Linked DNA regions of Homo sapiens: region 1 is linked to region 2. Evidence: promoter capture Hi-C in 16 types of primary human blood cells and fetal thymus (Javierre and others, 2016). All regions are on one chromosome and are shown on one strand. The core of a region is centred on a gene start or on the middle of the fragment in contact, and the rest is flanking DNA. Distances in the headings are between cores, read along the strand shown. Region 1 overlaps PHLDB3 (pleckstrin homology like domain family B member 3). Region 2 holds the start of KCNN4 (potassium calcium-activated channel subfamily N member 4).

Region 1 (2,700 bases), core at 201-2,700, 300 kb before region 2:
AAAAAAAAGGAAAAGAAAAATAATAAATAAATTTTTAAAAACATATTTTGGAGACAATGAGAGAAATGTGAATATGGACTATATATTACAATATAATGAAATTAATAATCTCATAAGATGTGACAATGGAATTTTTGTTATGTTAAAAAAAAAAAAAAACTTATTGGCCAGGCACAGTGGCTTACACTTTTAATCCCAGCACTTTTTGAGGCCAAGGCACACAGATCACCTGAGGTCAGGAGTTCAAGACCAGCCCGGACAGCATGGCAAAACCCCATCGCTACTAAAAACAAACAAAAAAAATAAATGGGTGTGGTGGTGGGCACCTGTACTCCCAGCTACTCGGGAGGCTGAGGTAGAAGAATCGCTTGAACCAGGGAGGCAGAGGTTCCAGTGAGCTGAGATCACATCACTGCACTCTAGCCTGGGCGACAAGAGTAAAACTCTGTCCCCCAAAAAACAAGCCTATCTATTGGAGATACACAGTGATGTTTGAGTGAAAGGATACAATATTTTGCTTTAAAATATTTCAGTGCAGAGTGGGATGTAGGTATGGGATTAGTAAAATAAAATTGGTGGCTGGGCACCAATGCCCTAGAATTATTCTTATAATTCTAGCAGCTTGGAGGCTGACATGGGAGGATTGTTTGAGGCCAGGAGTTTGAGATCAGCCTGGACAACATAGCAAGACTCTATCTCTACAAAAATAAAATACATTAAAAATATAGGAGTGCAGAAGACTTATGAGAAAAAAAGAAAAATATTAAAAATAAAAATAAAATATATATACCTAGTACATACACAAATTAAAATGTTAAATAAAATAAATAAAAAGTTGGCAAGTACAAGATTCAATATTGAAAATGATTAAAGCTGCGCAGTGGGCACCTGGGGGTCTATTAATCTACTCCTTCTCTCATGCATATGCTTGAATATTTCTATCGTAAAAAGGTTTTTTGTTTTTTTTTTTGAGACAGAATCTTGGTCTGTCACCAAGACTGGAGTGCAGTGGTGTGATCTTGGCTCACTGCAACCTGCACCTCCCAGGTTCAAGCAATTCTCTGCCTCAGCCTCCTGAGTAGCTGGGATTACAGGTGCCCGCCACCATGCCCGGCTAATTTTTTGTATTTTTAGTAGAGACGGGGTTTCACCATCTTGGCCAGGCTGGTCTTGAACTCCTGACCTCATGATCCACCCACCTCAGCCTCCCAAAGTGCTGGGATTACAGGCGTGAGCCACTGCGCCCGGCCTAAAAAGTTTTTTAAATAAATAAAAATAAAAACAGTTTTTTGGTTTTGATTTTTTTTTTTTTTTGAGACAGATTTTCGCTCTTATTGCCAAGGCTGGAGTGTAGTGGTACAATCTCGGCTCACTGCAACCTCCACCTGCGGGTTCAAGTGATTCTCATGCCTCAGTCTCCCGAGTAGCTGGGATTACAGGCATGTGCCACCATGCCCGGCTAATTTTTGTATTTTTAGTAGAGATGGGGTTTCACCATGCTGGCCAGGCTGGTCGCAAACTCAGGTGATCCACCCGCCTTGGCCTCCCAAAGTGCTGGGATTACAGGCATGAGCCACTGCACCCAGCCAAAAACAAAATTTTAAATGATTTTTAAAAGTTCCAGCATGGACTGGGCATGGTGGTTCACGCTATAATCCCAGTACTCTGGGAGGCTGAGGCAGGAGGATTGCTTGAGGCCAGGAATAAGTCCCAGCATGGACTTGTCCTCCTTCTGTACTGACTGCTGACATTGTCACCAATGTACAGAAGAGGAAAATGAGGCAGAGTAGAGCAAGTTACCCGAGGACCTGCCACACATGGAGATGACCATCATCCGGTCATGGGAACAGGAACTGGTCCTCTGCAGTTCCCTTTCCCTTGCCAAGCCCAGGACAATTTTCTGTTCAATTGGAGGAGAGGAAAGGGTCAGATGTAAGAAAGGGCATAGGTCAGGGGGAGAAACAGAGCAGGGAGAGGTGGGCGTGAGGGCGGGGGTGGGACTGACCGTGATGGCAGGAACAGCAGGGCCTGAGGAACCTTCCGTGCCCCTTCTTGTTCCTTCCTGTGGATTCAGGATGAAGCACTCAATGAGGATCCCAGCCCATAAGATGGTAGGGTGGCTGGAGAATGTCCTAGCTTCTCTGTTCTGAGGGTACAGGGACTGGGGGCCTGGACTCCTGGGTATGAGGGAGGATGGGCTGGGGGCCTGGACTCCTGGGTCTGAGGGTGGAGGGGCTGGGGGCCTGGACCCCTGGGTCTGAGGGAGGTGGAGTTGGGGGTCTCCCAGGTCTGAGGGAGGAGAGGCTGGGGCAGTCTTCTGTTCCGAAGAGGATGGCCTGGGCTCTCACCCGGGCCTTGAGCAGCCGCTCCCTCTCCGCCATGGCCTGCTGCAGGAGCCGCTCCATGTGGGCAATGTCTGGATGGATGGCCCCACAGCTAGGAGGAGGGAACACAGACGGGGTGGGTTACAGTGGCTGGGCCTCTTCTTCCATCTCCCCACCTTCTCTCTGATGTCTCACCTATTCCCACGGCCACAGTTCAGCAGCTGGTAGAGGGGGTATCTGCCGGAGTCCCCCACTGCTGGCGGGAGAGCTGAGGCCTCCAGGGATTCTAGGGTAGAGGGGACCAGGTTACAGGGCTGGATACACCCTGGCCTGAGCCTATCCACTTCTCCCCTGCAGGCATAGGTGCGGGTTTCCT
Region 2 (2,700 bases), core at 167-2,666:
CTCCAGCCCCTCCTTTCCTGTTGAGCAAGTCTGTTCTCCCCTCAAGCCACTTATTCCAACCCTTGTCCTTGATCTGCCCCATCACTGGCCTGACCAGGGCTGGAATGTGACGGGAGCCTGCTGAGACCTGCCCTGACCCCACTTTCCCCTTTCTTCCCTACTCACCACTCATCTTCGGAGTCAGCCCCTCTTCCCCAAAAGCAATCAAAACCCCCTTCTCCTTAAGACTCAGGAATCCAGGACCCAGCCCCCTCCTCTCCTGGTACCTAGGAGTCCAGGCCACTGTAAGCCTACCTCTCCACTATTTCCCTGACTAATCAGCATGCAGATTTGGGGAGAAATTGAGCTTGTTAACAGTGGAGACTGGGTTGGGGTTGGTGGGGGGAGGCAGGTCGGGGGAGAGGTTTGTTTCCCATTTCCCATCCCCACCCCCAAGGCAGTTTTTTCTGTCCTTTGCATCTAAGGCACTGGGTAAACATTAGAGGTTAGACAAGGACCAAAGAGCTGCCGCCTACTGGAAGAACTTTGTCTTTCCTCCACTCTCCCTTCACCAAACCTGGGGCTACCTCTCCCCTTATTGGCTCTTGGGGGGCTTGAGTGTCTGATCAGCCACCCTCTGGCCTCCAGGGGTCCTGGACCTCTGGCCGTCTAATGGCAACATCTTCAAAGACTGAAACACTGAAACAAATATTCCCTTCCTTTTGCAGAGAAGGACCCCAGCAACTGTCTCCTGGGAGCACCCAGGAGTCCCAGCCAAAGCCCCTCCTCCCTCAGACCCAAGAGTCTAGGCCCCCAACCTCTCCTCCCTCAGATCCAGGAGTCCTGACCCCCAGCCCCTCCTCCCTCAGACCCAGGAGTCCAGACCCCAGCCCCTCCTCCCTCAGACCCAGGAGTCCTGACCCCCAGCCCCTCCTCCCTCAGACCCAGGAGTCCAGGCCCTCAGTCCCTCCTCCCTCAGACCCAGGAGTCCAAGTCCCCAGTCCCTCCTCCCTCAGACCCAGGAGTCCTGACCCTCAGCCCCTCCTCCCTCAGACCCAGGAGTCCTGACCCCCAGCCCCCCCTCCCTCAGACCCAAGAGTCCTGACCCCCAGCCCCTCCTCCCTCAGACCTAGGAGTCCCAGCTCCCAGCCACCATGCCCCACTCACCGAGCACCCCCCGAACCACAGCATCTCTGCATGCAGCACCATGAGTCCAATGCCAGTTCCTGCCAGCACCAGTGCCCAGCCGGCCAGAGACTTCTCCTGCTCCAGCAAGCGCTTTCGGCGTCTCAAGGCCCCCAGGCCAAGCACCAGATCCCCGCCCATGGCCCCCGGGGTCTTGGGGCTCAGCCAGCTTCCTGCCCAGGGTCCCCCACCTCGCAGCACGCACAGGGCAGCCACTGTGGCTTGCAGGTCGTCAGCCTGCTCTGCTGGCTCTGGGACTTTTGCTCTGAGGCACAGCAGAGCCCTGTGCCCTCTGGGGAGTGGTGACGGCCAGGCAGGGCGGGGAGGGGCAGGGGAGGCCCCAGGGTAGGGGGAGGCTCCCCAGCTCCCCCTTTTGAGAATAAGGAGGGGCTAGGGTGTGTCTTGGGGCAGAGCAAGAAAGAGACGTCCATCCACGTGGATAAAGACACACACAGACACACGATGGGCTTTGTCACACACAATGGTCTGTACTTTGTGACACACACCTCTACTCACCACACCCAGACACCGAAGGACACTCCACAGCCCAAGACGGAGACTAACACACCAGGGCACACAACACAACCTACACAGAGTGACTCACAACTCCCAGCAAGCTCTGAAACCCACAGCCACACCCAGACACCACACACATGGTGTGACACACACCAGCACTTAGCAAGCAGGCAGTATCCCGTGGCACACACAGCCACCCAAACACCGTCCACACACAGGCACAAATATTACACTCAAAGTTGTCACAACTTTCTCTGACACAAAGAGCCACACCCAAACACCACAAATAGGACGATGCACAACTGTGGCCACACAAACACAACATACACCAGGTGTTACACAAACACACAATATATATTAAAGTAGTGACGCCCTGATGCCACACACCACACACCGACACAAACACTGTGCAGTCCCAGTTTCCTAAACACTACACACCCTTGGAACGAAACCCAATACGTGTAGACACACAACATTTAGGGACATACCTATAGTAGCCCCCAATCACCCAGAGCTAGAGAATTGCACATACATTGTGGCGCCTGTTGACTCGAACACAAGTGCTCGCAGTGATGATTCAAAACACGCACTGATTCAGCATGCTCTGATGTGTGGTGCGATTCAAATGTATGGTCAGAGGACAAGCTGAGTGGATGCATGCAGAGACCTACAAGGTACAGCGACACACGGAGAAACCCAAGAAGCACATGCCTGAAGCAAGATGATTCTGGTATATTCTGGCCACACAGGACAACATCCAGGATGATGCCCTGGGGGAAGGGGATGGGGTTGGACCTTCATAGACCCCAGTGCCCAAATGCAACATACGGCTGGGTGCAGTGGCTCATGCCTGTAATCCCAGCAGTTTGGGAGGTTGAGGTGGGAGGATTGCTGGAGCCCAGGGGTTTGAGACCAGCCTGGGCAACATAGCAAGATCCTATCTCTAAAACAAGCAAAAACAAAAAAACAAACGCAACATACACCATCACCTCTGAGCCATGAGCCACACCCAAACATGAC

Evidence for each region. Contacts are between HindIII fragments. The CHiCAGO score rates a contact against its expected background, and 5 or more counts as called.
Region 1: a contact is called between a fragment that was not itself captured here and the fragment with the promoter of KCNN4 in region 2, in 1 of 17 cell types (activated CD4 T cells). The highest score is 5.6, in activated CD4 T cells.

Annotation. Positions count from the first base shown.
Region 1 is chr19:43,484,261-43,486,960 of GRCh38, forward strand. It overlaps PHLDB3 (pleckstrin homology like domain family B member 3), which reads right to left. Exons shown (of 16, transcript NM_198850.4): 11 at 2,520-2,610; 12 at 2,349-2,436; 13 at 2,006-2,062. Among named protein-coding and RNA genes, the nearest start is that of PHLDB3, 19 kb to the right of the region's middle. The HindIII fragment of the contact is 5,698 bases long and covers 1-2,700 here.
Region 2 is chr19:43,779,557-43,782,256 of GRCh38, forward strand. It overlaps KCNN4 (potassium calcium-activated channel subfamily N member 4), which reads right to left and starts at 1,417. Exons shown (of 9, transcript NM_002250.3): 1 at 1,147-1,417. The coding sequence starts at 1,305. RefSeq lists enhancers at 1-304, 663-792 and a silencer at 1,399-1,668. The HindIII fragment of the contact is 12,714 bases long and covers 1-2,700 here.